2 separate regions of the Homo sapiens genome follow, and region 1 is linked to region 2. Evidence: promoter capture Hi-C in 16 types of primary human blood cells and fetal thymus (Javierre and others, 2016). All regions are on one chromosome and are shown on one strand. Each heading gives the region's core, a stretch centred on a gene start or on the middle of the fragment in contact. The rest is flanking DNA. Distances are from core to core; before and after follow the strand shown.

What was found. The method cuts DNA at HindIII sites, captures the fragments that hold promoters and counts their contacts. A CHiCAGO score of 5 or more calls a contact.
Region 1: a contact is called between a fragment that was not itself captured here and the fragment with the promoter of CYP39A1 in region 2, in 2 of 17 cell types (fetal thymus and total B cells). The highest score is 5.1, in fetal thymus.

The regions. Positions count from the first base shown.
Region 1 is chr6:46,124,134-46,129,546 of GRCh38, forward strand. It overlaps a transcript of CLIC5 not described here. Among named protein-coding and RNA genes, the nearest start is that of ENPP4, 3.1 kb to the right of the region's middle. The HindIII fragment of the contact is 3,764 bases long and covers 1,706-5,413 here.
Region 2 is chr6:46,649,770-46,654,421 of GRCh38, forward strand. CYP39A1 (cytochrome P450 family 39 subfamily A member 1) reads right to left here and starts at 3,049. Exons shown (of 12, transcript NM_016593.5): 1 at 2,637-3,049. The coding sequence starts at 2,813. It overlaps SLC25A27 (solute carrier family 25 member 27), which reads left to right and starts at 3,206. Exons shown (of 9, transcript NM_004277.5): 1 at 3,206-3,529. The coding sequence starts at 3,424. RefSeq lists enhancers at 2,954-3,003, 3,234-3,363 and silencers at 3,024-3,113, 3,544-3,643. The HindIII fragment of the contact is 2,676 bases long and covers 1,111-3,786 here.

The DNA of each region.
Region 1 (5,413 bases), core at 2,338-4,837, 530 kb before region 2:
AAGCCAAAAGAACAAAGCTGGAGGCATCACACTACCTGACTTCAAACTAGACTACAAGGCTACAGTAACCAAAACAGCATGGCACTGGTACCAAAACAGAGATATAGACCAATGGAACAGAACAGAGCCCTCAGAAATAATACCACACATCTAAAACTATCTGATCTTTGACAAACCTGACAAAAACAAGAAATGTGGAAAGGATTCCCTATTTAACAAATGGTGCTGGGAAAACTGGCCAGCCATATGTAGAAAGCTGAAACTGGATCCCTTCCTTACACCCTACACAAAAATTAATTCAAGGTGGACTTAAATGTTAGTCCTAAAACCATTGAAACCCTAGATGAAAACCTAGGCAATACCATTCAGGACATAGGCATGGGCAAGGACTTCATGTCTGAAACACCAAAAGCAACGGCAACAAAAGCCAAAATTGACAAATGGGATCTAATTAAACTAAAGAACTTCTGCACAGCAAAAGAAACTACCATCAGAGTGAATGGGCAACCTACAGAATGGGAGAAAATTTTTGCAATCTACTCATCTGACAAAGGGCTAATATCCAGAATCTACAAAGAACTCAAACAAATTTACAAGAAAAAAACAAACAACCCCATCAGAAAGTGGGCAAAGGATATGAACAGACACTTCTCAAAAGAAGACATTTACGCAGCCAACAGACACATGAAAAAATGCTCATCATCACTGGCCATCAGAGAAGTGCAAATCAAAACCACAATGAGATGTCATCTCACACCAGTTAGAATGGCGATCATTAAAAAGTCAGGAAACAACAGGTACTGGAGAGGATGTGGAGGAATAGGAACACTTTTACACTGTTGGTGGGACTGTAAACTAGTTCAACCATTGTGGAAGACAGTGTGGCGATTCCTCAGGGATCTAGAACTAGAAATACCATTTGACCCAGCCATCCCATAACTAGGTATATACCCAAAGGATTATAAATCATGTTGCTATAAAGACAAAAGCACACATATGTTTATTGCAGCACTACTCACAATAGCAAAGACTTGGATCCAACCCAAATGTCCAACAATGATAGACTGGATTAAGAAAATGTGGCACATATACACCACAGAATACTATGCAGCCATAAAAATAATGAGTTCATGTCCTTTGTAGGGACATGGATGAAGCTGGAAACCATCATTCTCAGCAAACTATCGCAAGGACAAAAAACCAAACACCGCATGTTCTCACTCATAGGTGGGAATTGAACAATGAGAACACTTGGACCCAGGAAGGGGAACATCACACACCAGGGCCTGTTGTGGGGTGGGAGGAGAGGGGAGGGATAGCATTAGGAGATATACATAATGTAAATGACGAGTTAATGGGTGTAGCACACCAACATGGCACATGTATACATATGTAACAAACTTGCACGTTGTGCACATGTACCTTAGAACTTAAAGTATAATTAAAATATATATATATATTTTTAAAAAGTTAAAAAAATAGTTTAAGCAAAAAGATAATTTACTGAGTCATGTAAAGTGAAAAGTCCAAGGATGGAGCTTCAGGTTAACTTGGACCCACGTGCTCAATGTCATCACGTGTTGGACTCCAGCTCTTGGCTTTGCTTTCTTCTCAGGTAGACTTTCCCTTTACAGTGACAATGATGGCCACCAGCAGCTTCAGTGATTGCTAAATAGGTAGATTATCAACAATTGCCAAATAGGTAAGCTTATACTCTACCTATTTAGCAATTGTTGCTGAAACAGGGACTCTTTCCCAATTATTTCAACAAAAGTTTCAGAATTGAGTCTTTATGGCCTGGACTGAGGCATGTCCCCATCACTGAACTAATTCATGTGGTTAATGGAGTAAAATTGGCTCCAAAAGGCCAAGTTTGAGTCAGGCTTAGGGTGACCAACTCACCCCGATTTGCTTGTTGCTTTTCTGATTTTAGGATTAAAAATCCCATGTCCCAGGAACCTCTTCCATTTGGGACAAACCAAGATAGCTGGCACCTTAGGAGTCTGCCCCGTGGATGAGGGGAATTAACAGTCAGCCCCATCTGACTCCCATAGTCAAAGAATGAAGGTGGGTTTGTCTCTTGGAGGAATTGCCAGAAGGAGGAGGAATGAATGCTGGGCAGGCAAAAGCAAGAGAGTAATGTCCTCTCCATTCATTTTCTTAGATTAGAGGCACCTTGAGGGCAAGGAATTAATCTTACTTATTTTTGTATCTTTTGAAAAATTGAGCACATTGCTCTCCACATAGGAAAGCCTCAAAAGAATTTATACTGATTCTTTCACAGCTTTATTAAATATTTGAAAAAATTCCTTTAGAGTGAAGGTCTAACACAATAGTTCATGGTGGTTAATACAGAATCATTTTTTAAAGGAGCACTTAAAAATATTTTACAATCTTAACTTGATTGAGATTATTCCAATATAATCTTACTGAAAATGGAGTAGGTGAAAAGTTTTCACCAAAGGAACTTTCAAAATCACTAAAATGCAATGATTCATAAGGTCCTTTTCCCCTGTTATATTTAAGATAAAATCTGTATTACTTAAACATCTAATTTATATTAAAAAGTGAACCTTAAATACTCTCCTTGACATTCAATTATTTAGTTTCAGTTGTGTTGTTGTTTAATTAGAACTGAGCAGTGGACAGGAATTGTTTTTCTTTGGGAAGCGTGTGGCTTTTGCTCTGAAACCTTCTTCCTGTAACTTCTAACTTCTGACCTTCTCCTGGCCAGCAATGAGTTATACATCACAATTAGGAGTATAAAAGAGAAATAATTGTATAGAGAGCTATGTCTTAAATTTTGAAAACAGGATAAGATTTTTAAAATATTTTGTGTTAATGAATAAATGTTCAGTCTTGAGCGTAGTTCATGGGAGAAAAAGAAACTGCCTTTGACATGCTGCTTCCAAATCTGACATTGCCCCATAGAGGCAAATGCTCTAGTTGTACTTAGTTTTTGTGTATTGATAAATAATATTTCTATACATTTATAGGGCAGATGTGATATTTTGTTACATGCATTGAACGTGTAACAATCCAGTCAGGGTATTTAGGGTATCCATTACCTCGAGTATTTATCATTTCTATGTGATGGGAACATTTCAAGTCCTGTCTTCTAGCTATTTTGAAATATAAAATACATTTAACTATAGTCACCCTACTCTCCTATCAAACATTAGAATATATTTCTTCTATCTAACTGTATGTTTGCTCAGTCATTTCTCTGTGGGGTATATTCATTTGTAAATAATAAGTTTAGACTATTGCCTCTAATTCATTTCAATCTCTAACATAAAATGGGTTTAAAGGCTCTCTATATTTCCAAAATTTATATAAAATTCCCTTTGCAAAAGCTGAGCTGAAAGAACATTATAAATGAATATTATTTTGCCTACCTAAATAAAACAACACTTATGCCTAAAAATCACATTGTAAATAAGAAATTTATGTTACTATTATGTTTTCTTTTATTATCATTAAAGTTCTACAATGAAACTATAGTGAACTTTGTGGCCGGCTTCCCAGCACCCATTCCAACTCATTTCCATTGAGAAAAAAAGTAAAGTTTGGGTGAGACCTCAGTTTAAGATGTGGACTGCATTGGTCTACAGGTAACCATATCCTTTGCTGGCTTAGATTTGGATATGTGACACAATTCTGTCCAAAGTGATTAAAGGAGACAGTTGCTGAAGACTTCTAAGAGACAGAAGAAATCTAGACGTCATTTCTATCACCCAGTGGAAGTGAAAAATGAATTACATGGTTCCTGTTGCTGCTGGTAGTTATATTTACCACTAAAGGAACCAGAAGTCTACTCTGTTAAAAGCCAAGTGTAAAGCTGCAAAGAACTGAGTACATTATGAAATCGTTGAGTTGCTAACTCAACCAGTCCTGAAGTCTGCCTTACCTCTGGACTTCTTGTTCCACAAGACGATAAATATCCTTACTATAACAGGATTTTGGTTGTGGTTGAAATGGTAAATATATAGAGGATAACAAAAGTTTAGGGCCAAAGGTCCTTATGTGTCATTTTGTCCCTCTGTTCCTGACCACTTTATCTTACAGAGCAAGAGCCCAGGTGGCATGAGACTCCCTAATTTAACCCAGCCACACAGGCAGTAGCAGTGGATAAAGAGAGTCCTCTCCTGATGCCCATCCAGCTGCTATCTTCACCACACATCTGACCTAGATGGCATTCAGTTTTGTCCACCCTTTAAGCATACATATGCACCTACTGAATGAACAAACAGGATATGCACAATACCCCCAAATGCCACAAAATTTAAGTTCTGCTAATCTTAAATGTTATGTCATTGGACATTACCTAAATTCCCCCAAAACTTGGCCTTACCCTGACTATTGTTCAAATTGGGGTACTTTTTTGGTCATAATGATAATAATCCCCAAAACAACATGTGTCAGATACTGTGCTGAATACTCTACTCGCTTTCCTCATTCATTTGATAGTAAGAGGTTGGTATTGTAACAAGACGCGTTTTGCAGATGAGGAAATGAAAGCTCAAATAGGTTGAGACACTGGCCCATGATTGCTCTGCTGGTGAGTGACAGAGTGAGTATTCAAACCAGGTTCTAGGGTCTGCAGGTTCTAGGGATTCAGCTACAGACCCACTACCATCCCCTCCAGCTCTGAAAGCCCATGGATCTAAGATGCCCATATTCACCAATGCACAGGCCAACCTGAGACTTAAAACTGGAATTAATTTATCAAGGCACAAACTAATAATCAACGGAATACATCTATTGCCAAATCATCTCCATGGCTGCTTCCAGATTGTTGGTAATAGCTATACTGTAAGGTTCAGACCAAGGGGACCAACGTCAGAATTTGTTATCTAAGGTCCAGTACTGCAGTTTACTAATCCAGGTACTGGATTTACAGCTATTAAATACTTAACACTTGAGGATATCACATGTGATTAATATTCTTAATTTATTTGTACTTTTTATTTGAGCTGGAGATACAGTAGTGAACAAGAAAGAAAATACCTTCTGGAGCCTGCATTTTAACAAGCGGGACAATTAAATTCAATAGTGATTTAGCAAGTACTTCTATACCAAGTTCTGTTTGGCACTACAGATAAAAAGAAAAAAGATGCTATCCTCTCACTGCCAAGTGTGCCTGGACAACCCAACTGTTAGCGAATAATTCTACTTCTGTTTGGTAACTGCTCTTTATGTTGGAAAGTTTAGTTACATTATTCTATTAAATAACCTTCCAATTAAAAGCAGGAGCACAATCCCACATACGCGTCTGTCAAAGTAAGCACCCATTTCTCAGCTGTAACTCATTACTGGTTCCCTGCCGCAGGCACTGTGCTGCTTTTAACCTTACTTGTAAACTATTACCTAACTTCCCCGGTAAAGGTGCTCGCTTATCCAGTAAGACGGA
Region 2 (4,652 bases), core at 1,799-4,298:
GACTTTCCCCGTAGTTTTTATATTTACAATTTTTTGAACCGTATAAATGCATGATCTATTCAAAGATTAAATAAAAATAATGGGAAGATGTTTTTGTGGTCACCAAAGTTGTCTCTTCTCAGTCTTCTAGAGGAGCATGAGAAGCTGAGAGTGTTAGCTAATGATGGAGTTTTAGAAGTTTTTTCTTGAAGGTTCAATACGCCATAAGTAGTGTCTTATGCAGGTGCCATTTAGATGCAATTTCGCATCAAGTCTACTGAGTACCTGTTGCAGCCACTGCGAAAACTCAGAATGGACCCCCACCCAAGATCTGGTTTGGATGTTAAGACAATTACTACATTTACACACACACACACACACACACACACACATACACACATACACACCTTGAGAGGGTATGAAGAGGTTTATTTCATACACAATGAGACTTCTCTGGGGAAAGAAGGGCAGTCCTCTCAAGCTGATCTGAAAATGACTTGAGAAAACAGTGAAAAGAGACAGGTCTTAGGGTTTCATTGTGGTTAGGGGGTAGGCTGGTGTGAGCCTTCCTGCATGAAGGTTGAGGTTTGTGTGATTTGAATCTCCCCTGGCACCAAAGGTGGGAGCACTCTGGCTTTTTTTTTTATCATACTGCCCAGATTAAGGGTACAAGAAAAGACAAGAGTGAACCTTAAAAGCTTTTAGTAGTAAAACATCAAATAATGCAGTCATATTCTTTTTTTTTTTTTTTTTTTTTTTTTTTTTTTTTTTAAGAGACAAGGTCTCGCTCTGTTGCCCAGGCTCGAGTGCAGTGGCTCAATCATAGCTTACCGGAATCTGGAACTCCTGAGCTCAAGCAATCCTCCCGCCTCAGCCTCTCGAGGAGCTGGGACTACAGGCATGTGCCACTGGACCAGATTAAATTTTTTATTTTTCTATTTAGTTTTTGTAGAAATGAGGTCTTGCTATATCTCCCGGGCTGGTCTTAAATTCCTGGCCTCAAGCAATCCTCCCACCCCTGCCTCCCAAAGTGTTGGGATTACAGGTGTGAGACACAGAGTCCAGCAATAACTTGTTTTGTTTAGTCAGGAAAGCAATAGAGACCTCACAAATATTTAGCCTTCTGACACAAGCTTGTAAAAAAACAGTTCCTTAAAAATTATCAAGATCATATGCATAAGGAAGGCTGTGGGAGACAAAGGAGTATTTCTTTAGGAGATATAATGTTTCATCTATCAGACTAGCAAAAATTGCAAAGAATTATGGTATTCAGTATGGCCCAGGATTTGAGAAGTTAGGCAATTGCATACAGTCAATGGAAAATAAAAATTGCATATTCATACTTCTTTTTCCAAAAGTAACACATTCATATAAACAATTTAAGTGTGCATGTCCTTTGACTCAGCAATTCTACTCCTAGGAATTTATTCTGAGTAAACAATCAGATAATTGCAAAATGTACAACCACACAATCAATACATGCACACAAACACGCAAGAATGTTCACTGAAGCACTGGCTGAAAGAAAAAAGTTTGGCAGCAACCTATAAACCCAACTATTGAGATTTAAGTAAACTATTGTATCCTCCTATGACAAAATATAGCCATAAAAGGAAGATTCAAAGTATTTCATGGTACAGGAAAGTCATTCACATTATATGTTAAAATCAAAAGCACATAAAAGAGTATTATACTATTATTCCATTGTTGTTCATTAAATAGTTGTAAATACATAGGAAAATGACCAAAATAATATAAATACACTAAATTTTTACAGTACAGCTGGTGTGATATTCTGGGTTATTTTTATTTTCATCTTAGTTCTCTTTAATTTTCTATATGTTTTTTACTAAATTGGAATCTCAGAGATTTTGAAGGCAAATGATCAGTGGTAAAATAATGCTACTACGTATAAATTCATTCTACAAATTGGGCTAACCAGATGGAAAATGGGTCACCACAGAAAGTATTATAATTCATAAGAATAATTATAATATCATACAAATTTATTAGACAATCAAATACCATAAAATATTTGTGACTGGAAATTGAATAAAACTTAAAAGACATTAATAAAGGTCTGTTCCTTAAAGTGCTCAGACATTTAAAAGATACTTTCAAGACAAAAACATCTACTACAAGGAGGATTACTAGTCTCTTCAGGCCGTAGTGAAAATGGAGTACATCATCATCAAATAACAACGTCAGCTAAAAATACAGAGCCTGTTTATTGTGTACGGACCAACTGTGCAAGCAATTTGTACAATACTTTGGTGTTAACTCCAATTTGGATACGAATTACTCATTTTCACAAACTTAAATTGGATTACACTTTATCTTTCCCAATTACTGAAAACATTTACTTAACACATACACATTTGGAACTTAACTTCGATGAAGTAAAAATACGAAAAGTTAATCTCTACTTCCAAAAATGTCGATGCACGCTGCAATTGTATTTCATTTCTTTCGCAAAATTTTGCACAGGATATTGTTGTTAATTGTTAGTAGAGGAATTCAGAAATGACTAGATCCTTTAGTTGAGGCAAGCAGGTATGTTCCCCGTGTTCTAGCCCTGCACTTAAGAGTCAATGAAAGAAAGTTTAAAAAAGAAAGCATTGTCTCCTCTGGAGACCCCGTCTGCCACGACCACATACCTTGATTCTTGCTTTCTCTATAAATTCTAGAGGGGCTTTCCCAAACTCAAATCCAACTCCAATCCAAGGAATCCAGCCCTTGATGCACGGGGGTCTACGCAAATTCTTCCGCTGAAGGAGTAAGAACAGAGCAAGGCAACCCAGGATTATAATCACTGTTGGGGAAATTAGTTCCATGTTTTTGTCCAGCACCTTCCAGAAGCAGAAAAGTGTGAAACAGTCCTGCCGTCCCTTGCTTCTTTTCTGTGGGCTACGGAACCTGTCGGGACTCCCAACCTTTCTGCTGCAACTTTTGCAGCTCTCCTTCGTAACTGTAGCTTCCTTCCTCTGTCCCAGTTTTCAGGTGATTTTTCCATTGTCGCTCCCTCCCACCTCCACTTCTCTTTGAATCTCAGCCAGCGCGGAAAAAATGCAAGGAGGGGCAGGGCCGGGCTAGGACTGACGGGCGAGAACCAGCCGCGTTGCCATGGAGGCCGGGGGCGGAGCCGCAGAGGGACCCGCGGCCGGCCAATCAGAGACGTAGCGGAGCCCGGCGGACTACATTGCCCAGTAACCTCCTGGGCTCCGCTGTGTTTTTCTATTCTGGGGTGTAAGGGGCAGCTGGACCACTCCAGCTGGGACTGCTAGGAAGGTTGCGGGTCCACCCGGCCGAGCCGAACGAGGGAAATGGTCCTCACCCGGCCACTCGCCGGTTGAAAAGGGGCCGCCCTGGCAGGGAAGCGGCCGCCGCGGCGCGGTGCAGCGCAGCGGCGAGAAGGAGTGCGTTATCGTCTTGCGCTACTGCTGAATGTCCGTCCCGGAGGAGGAGGAGAGGCTTTTGCCGCTGACCCAGAGATGGCCCCGAGCGAGCAAATTCCTACTGTCCGGCTGCGCGGCTACCGTGGCCGAGCTAGGTACCCGGCTGCCCACGCCTGGGCCTCCCGGGCCAGTGGCACGCGCCGCGCTGGGGGAGGGTGCGCGGGCGGCTTCGCGCCCGGCAGTGCGCATCGGAGAGGTCGCCCCTTCCATGCCCGCCTGGCAGAGGTGGCGGTGGAGGCCAGGCCCGCGGTGGGAGGAGGAGGGATTGAGGTCTCCACGGCCTTTTCCTTCTAATCTCTTCTAATGCTTCCCTTAGGCATGTGCTGTGGTGCTTGAATGTTGTACTTTAAGAAGCTTCGCGAGCTGTCATTCCTCTGTAGGAATCATTTTCCTTTTCATGAGGATGACCTTTTTAAAAACGTAATCTGTTTTCCATCCTTACTGAGATCATCTCTGTGGTTTATAGTCTTACACAGCCACACTGTCATTATCTTGTGGGTCCAAGTTGTGGACCTACCTTGTGGGACTTCCGTTATTAACCTGCCACTCACAGAGCATCGACTACTTGACCTCTTTGAGTGTAATTCATCTATACTGTTTACCTTGCAGGATTCTGAGAAGTCAATAATATATGATTGCTAAACCCAAGGCAGGACACCCATTAGTTGCGACATTTTTATAATTCCTACAATACCAGGGACTGTGGATATATATTTGAAAAGACCCAGTTCTGACCTTCTTACAGGCTGCTGGGGAGACAGAGAAAGACAATTATAATGTGCTACTTGTTATAATGAAGATATTATTAGGTGTCATAAAAGCATAGAAGAGCAGTTACATCTGCCTACATGAGTAAGAAAAAACTTTAAGAGGCCATCTAGAGTGGAATGATGATGCCCTTGAATGAGCAAGTAGCGTTTATTCCAAGGATTTTGTGAGTAGTATACTCATGTGTTTCCTGTGAAGCCTTAACTGTGTATTTTAAGATTACCCTTACATTTTCTTGCCTGTTACAAAAAAATAAAAAGAACAGTTCTGATGCGTTATCATTTGTAAATGTTAGTTGGTCCTATTTTAAGAGTTTATTTTTTAATTCTAGCATAGCCAGCCATGATCAGTTGTTTCGTGCTCTTCCATTTTTGCCTTTTAGCCCCTCTATTTTTTAATGTCTCTCCTTTCGAAAATGATGGAGAATTTTTACTTTTCATTGTTTTTACT